2 separate regions of the Homo sapiens genome follow, and region 1 is linked to region 2. The links are contacts of gene promoters, found by promoter capture Hi-C in blood cells and fetal thymus (Javierre and others, 2016). All regions are on one chromosome and are shown on one strand. The core of a region is centred on a gene start or on the middle of the fragment in contact, and the rest is flanking DNA. Distances in the headings are between cores, read along the strand shown.

Region 1 (4,286 bases), core at 110-2,609, 4.5 Mb after region 2:
CGAAGTAATTCCGAAAGCACCAAAAAGCACTTTGAAAATTGCTCTAATTTACAGACTTAAGCCACTCAAATACATCATCTTTCCCTTATCAGAACTCACCTCACTTATCACACTCCACTACCCGCAGCCCACACCCCAGTATCAGAGACGACCCAGTCCTTGCCATGCCCATAGGTGGCTGGAGGGCGCTCGATGTACGTCCCGCTCCCACTCCCTCCCTCAGGGTGGACGTCTCCAGAATGGAGTGAAACCCTTCATAAGGTCACTTTTAAGTAGTAATGACCCACCCTCTGAAAAACCTAGAGACCAGAAACAGCACGAGGCATTTTCAGCACCCAGAGCAGAATCCGCCTTGCACTCTGCTGCAACCAGAGACTCGGTGCCAGAGCCATTTCCCCTGCAAGACAACCCCTCGCCTTACCTCTACCCATGCACCTTACGGCCGCCGCCATGTTGGGCACTCCGGATTGCGTTCACGAAATTGTTCCTACGTTTCTACTGGGAAGAATTAAAAAAAGGTTCCGTTCTAGAATCCGCAAAGAGGGAAGGAGTTAAAAAGAGAAAGAGGAACGGGGCGGGGACCAAAATGAGCTTTGCTGCCGGCGTGGCGGTGTTACTGTTAGTCCTCCGTGTTGCCCAGGACCCTGTGTGTTTCGTGGTTCCGGTATGGCTGGTTAACCACCTTCGGGAAAATACGATCCTGTTGGCGATGCTGTGATTATTTTAATCCTTCCTTCTTATTCTTTTTCTTTTTTGATCCTGCAAGTGTACTCAGAGCGACAATTTTAACAGGCTGTGAGAGTACTTAATACCCAACGTAAAATCTTGAAAAACAGGAACCCTGAAACCCACTAGCTTCCTCCGCCACTTTTCCGGCCTTGGAAAGACTTATTTTAAAAATTCTCTAGGCGTTTTCGCCGCTACCCGAGGGAGGTGTCCAACTCACTGACAAACTTTTTTTGCTAATTGTCAAACTTTCTGTCAGCGCAAGATCAACCTTAGCTTTAAAATCTTAAATTAATCTCTACATTTACCCCCTGCTGGCAAGCGAGTAGACTTACCATTAGGATCAATTGAATAATAATACTTGACATTTATAAAACATTTCTAGTTTTAAAATGGCAGCTCCAAGACCCACGCACAAGTTATTCTGATAGGAAAAAAAAACAAAAACAAAACAGAATGAGTGTACTTTCCATTACGTCACAGCTGTCGGTGTGGTTTATCTAAAACAAATCTGATTACGGATTTTATCACTTCCCAGCTTACCTCCCCCACAACACACACACACACACACACACACACACACACACACACACGTTTCTCACCTCCATAACTTGGTTCATTCTATCTTCTCTGCTTCGTGTGTACCGTACCCTACATCACCTAGGTAACTTTTTAAAGATTTCGCCTCAGGCTGTGTTTCTTTTAAACAGTTTTGAGATATAATTTACATAGCATACAATCTACCAATTTAAATTGTACAATTAAATGGTTTTTAGTGTACTCAAAGAGTTGTGCAGCCATCACCACAATATATCAGTTCTTGTCACCAGTCTGAGCTTTTTATGGGTAGAAACCATCTTACTCATTTTTGTAACCTCAGCACATACTTCAGTGCCAGGCCCATAGGAGGCTCTCAGTAAATGTTTGCTGAATAAATGAATATATGCATACATGAATTAGTGACTCAATTAGAATGGCAAGCCTGCAAAATTAACTTGCTTCAATGAAGCTGCCCACAGGCAGATGAACTGGATCAAAGGCATTTCCCAGATGCTTTATTCATATTTATACATAGTACTCATCTACATGAAAAAATAAGATTTCTAATGTATTGCCTTGTCTTGTTAACACCTAAGCAGTTACTTCAAAGATTCTATAACAATTTGTGACTTATGCAAAAAAATCGAAGAACTTAAATCTATCTTTGTAAACTTTTCCTTCTCTCCCTCGCTCCCTCTCATCCTCCCTTCTTTTCACAAATATATGAGTGCCTGCCATGTGTCAAGCAGTGTACTTGGCTATGCATAAATGAAAAAAACTAATTCAATTTGAGAGTAAGTACCAGAATTGGAGCAAGTTTACCCAGTCAATTTCAGAGAAAAACAAACACTCAGATTAGAGGTGCTGGTCCTTAGACCCTATATCTGTTTCCTTTCCACAGTCCACAGCTGGGGTCAGTTGGCCCCCATCTGTGGACTTTTTTTTCCCCCTCTCAAGACAGGATCTCACTCTGACACCCAAGCTGGAGTGCAGTGACAAGATCATAGCTCATTGCAGCCTTCACCTGCTGGGCTCAAGTGATCCTCATGTCTCAGCCTCCCAAGGGGCTGGGACTACAGGCACACACCACCACACCTGGCTAACTTATTTTTATTTTTCTTTATAGACAGCGGGGAGTGTGGGGTGTCTTTCTTTTTTGCCCAGGCTGGTCTCAAACTCCTGGCTTCAAGCAATCCCAAAGTGCTGGGATTACAGGTGTGAACCAACACGGCAGGCCCCATTTATGGACTTTTTTATGTCTACTGTTCTAACAAGAGAGTTTAAACATCCTATATTGAAACTATTACCATATAGTATGCTTACATACCATATAGTATGCTTATAGTGGTAGCCTAATTAAAGTAATGTCCTGTACAGGTACAGCTTACCTGTTGCCCACTCTGGTCACCAGAACTCGATGGCATTAGGTAGGATCCAGATTCCAGTTTTGTATATAACAATACATAAAGAGATTCCTTAGCCTGAGACTTTATTTTTATTTTTTTGAGACGAAGTCTCACTCTTTCGCCCAGGCTGGGGTGCAGTGGTGTGATCTCGGGCTCACTGCAAGCTCCGCCTCCCAGGTTCACGCCATTCTCCTGCTTCAGCCTCCCGAGTAGCTGGGACTACAGGCGCCCACCACCATGCACGGCTAATTTTTTATATTTTTAGTAGAGACGGGGTTTCACCGTGTTAGCCAGGATGGTCTCAGTCTCCTGACCTCGTGATCCACCCGCCTCGGCCTCCCAGAGTGCCGGGATTACAGGCGTGAGCCACCGCTCCCGGCCTTAGCCTGAGACTTTATAAAAACAACAAAAGGACTTTATAAAAACTACAAAAATCCATACTCTGAAATGGGAACTCCAAGACTGTAAATATTTAGTACATAATGAGTTTCTTCTCACTAAAAAGAGGTAATAGAGCAGGAATATCCAATCTTTTAGACCACACATAAAATACACTAATGATAGCTGATGAACTTAAAAAAAAAATCATCAAAAAATCTCATAATGTTTTAAGAAAGTTTACAAATTTGTGTTGGGCCGCATTCAAAGTCATACTGGGCTGCATGTGGCTGGCAGGCTGTGGGTTGGATAAGCTTGTAATAGAGCATTTTGGTTAAGCAGCTGTGCCCTGGAGCCAAACTGCCTAGGTTTGAATTCCAGTATTATCACTTAGTAGTTGTGTGACCTGGGGCAAATTTATATACCTCTCTGGGCCTTGGTTTCCCTGATATGGGGCTAATAATAAAATAATTTACTGAGGTGCTTACTGAAGTACTTGGCACAGAGTAAGCACTCAAAAAATATTAAGTGTCATTATTAAAGAACCAGTGAGAGCTCTGAACCAGAAAGGCAAAATGAATAAGCTGTTCTAGTACTCCTTCTTCCAATATCTGCTTATTTCTTAACATGATCCATGCTGTTGTTATTCCCACATGTATAAGGATGTCACTTTCTTTATATTAGAACTTTTATATGTATTTGCAGAAGGTCTTTAGACTGTATTATGGACTTAAAATTCACTTTAAAATGCAACTTTTGATTTCTAGGAAGATTTATACTTTCCAGGAGTCTTGGCAAAATGCCAGCTGCCAGCCTGCTTGGCTAATTTCCCTGGGAAAAGCTAATAAATATTTGTCTAGCCCTGTAACTTACTTGATCTGTGTTCTCTGCCTTCTTCAGCCATCTTCCAGTTGAGTTGGAAACTTCTTTGCAAGAAGTGTCACTTCCCTTTGGGGTTCAAGTTGAAAATGGATTCTCGGCCGGGCGTGGTGGCTCACGCCTGTAATCCCAGCATTTGGTAGGCCGAGGCGGGTGGATCACCTGACGTCAGGAGTTCGGGACTAGCCTGACCGACATGGAGAAACCCTGTCTCTACTAAAAAAATACAAAATTAGCCAGGCGTGGTGGTGCATGACTGTAATCCCAGCTACATGGGAGGCTGAGGCAGGAGAATCGCTTGAACCCAGGGGGCAGAGGTTGCCGTGAGCCAAGATCGCGCCATTGCACTCCAGCCTG
Region 2 (4,557 bases), core at 1,378-3,877:
TTCTAAGAACTCATGGTCTAGTAGAAAACAATGAAGAATAACAGAGGTAAAGATAAAGGGCTGTGAAAAGGGATCATTAATTCTGCCTCAGGAAGCCTGGGAAGACTTCACATAAATAGTAACATTTGTTTGTTTTTGAGACAGGGTCTCACTCTGCCTTTCTCACTGCAGCCTCCACCTTCCAGGTTCAAGTGATCCTCCCACTTCAGCCTCAGGAGTAGCTGGAACAACAGGAACCACCATGCCAGGTTAATTTTCTGACTTTTTGTAGAGGCAAGGTCTCACTCCGTTGCCCAGGCTGATGGCCAACTCCTTGAGGCAAGCAATCCTCCCGACTTGGCCTCTCAAAGTGCTGGATTACAGGCGTGAGCCACCACGCCTGCCAGAAGTTAAGTGAGTTCCAAGAAGAATATTGTGTGGATGCAGGAGCACATCCTGGATGTAGAGATCTTGGCCATAATATCAAGGACTATCAGTGATATGGACATCATACATCCTCATAAAGCATGTAAAGGTGTTAGCTTTAAAATCATTCCTAGGTTGTCTGGAACTTTTGACATAAATTCTAAGAATTCCAGAAGCTCCTAAGCTACATGTGAAATCAAAATGAACCTTTTGGAAAAGTCACTATTACCAAAAGGTGGGTATGTCTAATGATATCTTAAGATCAAAATAAATGACAATTACCGTCACTTGAGCCAGAAAAGATTAAACAGACTTCCCTTCAGTCAATCATCTTAGTTGTATCTAACCCGGAATATATGGTTTGAGCACCATATCCACTTTATCCTTTGCTAATATTCTGGCAGGTGGAGACAAATGTGGAGTCACTACCACTTTACGGTAAACATTCTTGGTATTACCTTTATGTGACTTGATTATTACGGGAGTTTGGTAAGATTATATTTTTAGGACGTTTTCAGAATTTGACCTGTATTCTTGAGTTTTAATTATTCTGTAATGTAAATTCTACTAACTTGATTAATAAAACTTACTTATAATCTTCCTTTGAGATTTTTGGATAGTGTCCAATTAATACAAATTCGTTTAACTGCAGTGGAAAATACCTAAACTTTTTTTTTTTTTTTTTTTTTGAGACGGAGTCTCGCTCTGTCGCCCAGGCTGGAGTGCAAGTGGCATGATCTCGACTCCCTGCAATCTCCACCTCCCGGGTTCAAGCGATTCTCCTGCCTCAGCCTCCTGAGTACCTGAGATTACAGGTACCGGCCACCACGCCCGGCTAATTTTTGTATTTTTAGTAGACACGGGGGTTTCACCATGTTGGTCAGGCTTGTCTCGAACTCCTGACCTCGTGATCCGCCCGCCTCGGCCTCCCAAAGTGCTGGGATTACAGGCGTGAGCCACCGCGCCCGGCCCAAATACTTAAACTCTTAAGATTTTTGCTGGAGTCTGCAAACTCGTCTTTGTTTCCCCCGTGCCCGAACACTTTAATTAAACAGGCAAATAATTATTTGTTGACTACAGAAGTACCTAGAAGCTTCATTTTCTTCTAAGGATACTGCTGGAAGCAGCAAATCCCAAAGCCCGAATAATCCAGTCTCCAGCCGAGGCAGCGGGAATTTTTAATAGGTGTATAAAATTACTTTTTATACACCTTAATGAAACGCCTAACGGTGTTACAAGAAAAGAAAAAAAAAAACCACGCACACACAACAAAAAAGCCAAACCCGAACACAAACTCATAAACCTCGTAAAGATGACTCACGACATTTATATATTCTATGTACAAAGGCTAAAGAACATTAAGCGAACCCTTGATTTAACACACTTTCCAATTATTAGTAACGTAAAGGAATCACGGTACGTTTTAGGATCTTTAAACAACAAAAGCAAAGCAAAAACAATGTTTTCCTTAAGATATGCAAGTTACCTGCTTCTTCGACCAAAAACAAAAAAATTCCAGGAGAAAAGCAGGCAAACAAAAATCTTACTTGGAAAGCCAAATCTTAAAAAGAAGCCCTATCGGCCCAGCGGCGATAGACGAAAACCTCAATGTCACCCGGTCCCGGGCGGCGACGGCAGGGAGAGTAGCTGCGGCAATCAGTGCGCGCGCGGTCCGCTGCGGCGCCTGGCGCTCCGCGGGCGTCCGGGTGGACAGCGCCAGGGGCACAGGGCTGACATCTCAGGGCTAATTCCCTCCTCCAGTGCGTAAATCCAGGCTTAAGCCGCCGCAGGGTGTGAGCCTCCCCTCCCCCACCCGAACGCCGCAGCTGCACGGGGCACGACAGCCTTCGCAGAGGTGCAGCCACACCCCGGCCTAACGCTGCTGCTCCCGCCGCTACTGGAGTGGTGGGGAGGGGTGAGTGGACTCCAGGAATCCTCGGAAGGGCGGGGGCGGAGGCAGGGGGCCCCTCTAGCCGCTACTTCGAAACAGCACTCCTTGTTCTCGATGGTCCCCGCGCGACTGTCTTAGCTCACGACACTTCCGGTTCCTTTTAAAGGCCCCCAAGGCTGTGCAACGCGGAGCGTGAGAGGAAGGTATAAAGGGTAGCGAGAGGGCGGGACCGAGGAGGAAAGGGAAAAAAAAAAAACTAGGGGGATAGGGGTGGGGGGACGCGCGAAGGGCGCGCTCTCGCGTCACGTGACCGGGACGCGCCGTTCTTCCGTCGGCCATTTTAGGTGGTCCGCGGCGGCGCCATTAAAGCGAGGAGGAGGCGAGAGCGGCCGCCGCTGGTGCTTATTCTTTTTTAGTGCAGCGGGAGAGAGCGGGAGTGTGCGCCGCGCGAGAGTGGGAGGCGAAGGGGGCAGGCCAGGGAGAGGCGCAGGAGCCTTTGCAGCCACGCGCGCGCCTTCCCTGTCTTGTGTGCTTCGCGAGGTAGAGCGGGCGCGCGGCAGCGGCGGGGATTACTTTGCTGCTAGTTTCGGTTCGCGGCAGCGGCGGGTGTAGTCTCGGCGGCAGCGGCGGAGACACTAGCACTATGTCGGAGGAGCAGTTCGGCGGGGACGGGGCGGCGGCAGCGGCAACGGCGGCGGTAGGCGGCTCGGCGGGCGAGCAGGAGGGAGCCATGGTGGCGGCGACACAGGGGGCAGCGGCGGCGGCGGGAAGCGGAGCCGGGACCGGGGGCGGAACCGCGTCTGGAGGCACCGAAGGGGGCAGCGCCGAGTCGGAGGGGGCGAAGATTGACGCCAGTAAGAACGAGGAGGATGAAGGGTGAGTAAGGGGCATCCCAGGATAGTCAGGCCCAACTAGTCCCCCTCCCCCTCTTTATTCCCCCGCCATTAGGCCTGGTTCCCGCTCTCAGCCCGTTCTCCGGGCCCCCATGCAGCCTCCTTGCACTGGTCTCCCTTTTTCTATGTTGGGTTCCCCGGACCTTCATTTCCTTCTTCCTTTGCCTGCTTATCGCCCCCCTCCCCCATCACACACGTTTCCACCTTTAGCCGTCACCATGCTGCTCCTCGGCCCGCCCTCCTTTCCTCCCTCGCCATGGGTCTCCTCCCACCGACTTAGCCGCCAGGATTTTTTCCCGCCTGTCGTGGGGTACCTTTTTTCTTTCCATGCTGTCCCCTCTTTTTCCCTTTTTCTACAGTCTTGGGCATAAAAACACAGACACAAACAGCTTCTCTGTTTGTATTACTAAGGTTTATTTGGTGCTTCTCCACCATCCTGAAACGATGCGATTGTTTATAAGCACATGTTTTGGGGAACGCGTAGGCTGTCCACCTCTGCCTCTCCCTTGTCGGCCTTAGGCCGACTGTTTTCTTGGGATTTTGAATAAGTTTCGCCTAAGGATTTACTCATTTTCTCCACCATACGCTATCGCACAATGGCATACTCATACAGGCCCTACATTTTGACATGCAGACCAAATTGGGTCTGGTGAAATGCTCCGAGTTTCTTGTTGGTACATTGGTTTTGCTCCGCGGGCTCTGGTTAAGTTCTTAGTCGATCGGGCCTGCACTTGACTGGAGCTGTTCCTATCTCCGGCCTAGCATCTACCCTTCCCCCACCCCACTGAGTTATTCTAACCGCGCACCCTTTTCGCGCCCTCAGCTATTGGGTTCCCCAACTGTTAGTACAGATTGTACCTTACTTTTTATGTGCAACCTAATTTTTTACAACCCCCAGCCCCCTTTTTTTCCCGGTGCCCAGGATCCTATTTTGGTGTCTTGATATCTGTTTCCCGCCCACTAAGGGAGGCCTGTAGTCCTCTTAAGAGAAACAAATCCTGTATTGTGCTATGGGATACTTTTTTTTTCTTTTTGGTGCAAATTTCTTAGTATTAACTTGCTTCCTCCAATTGAAATAACAGTTGTATATACTACCTAAATCTGCATTTAGTGTATTAAAATGCAGCATTTGGGATTGGGAACATAATACGGGAGTTAGCAGGAGGGACTAAATCAGGTTTCTTGGTTGAGTTTTCTTAGCTCCGATTACTGACCGATGATCGTGGGTTCACGCTTCCATTCCTTTTTGTAATGGGGAGGGGTGTGTGTGTGTCTGAATTTTTTTTTAACTGTAAAGAGAAAGGTGTTGGTGGATATAACAAGATGTCGCTTTAATCTAGTATTAGAAAACACGATTTCCTTTACTGA

The links. The method cuts DNA at HindIII sites, captures the fragments that hold promoters and counts their contacts. A CHiCAGO score of 5 or more calls a contact.
Region 1: a contact is called between a fragment that was not itself captured here and the fragment with the promoter of HNRNPD in region 2, in 1 of 17 cell types (neutrophils). The highest score is 5.7, in neutrophils.

What each region holds. Positions count from the first base shown.
Region 1 is chr4:77,859,015-77,863,300 of GRCh38, reverse strand. It overlaps MRPL1 (mitochondrial ribosomal protein L1), which reads right to left and starts at 471. Exons shown (of 9, transcript NM_020236.4): 1 at 422-471. The coding sequence starts at 452. RefSeq lists enhancers at 1-23, 384-783 and a silencer at 2,268-2,483. The HindIII fragment of the contact is 4,015 bases long and covers 1-3,366 here.
Region 2 is chr4:82,372,061-82,376,617 of GRCh38, reverse strand. HNRNPD (heterogeneous nuclear ribonucleoprotein D) reads left to right here and starts at 2,627. Exons shown (of 9, transcript NM_031370.3): 1 at 2,627-3,172. The coding sequence starts at 2,940. It overlaps HNRNPD-DT (HNRNPD divergent transcript), which reads right to left and starts at 2,050. Exons shown (of 2, transcript NR_183813.1): 1 at 1,953-2,050. RefSeq lists enhancers at 2,499-2,668, 4,029-4,078 and a silencer at 3,029-3,128. The HindIII fragment of the contact is 7,055 bases long and covers 1,501-4,557 here.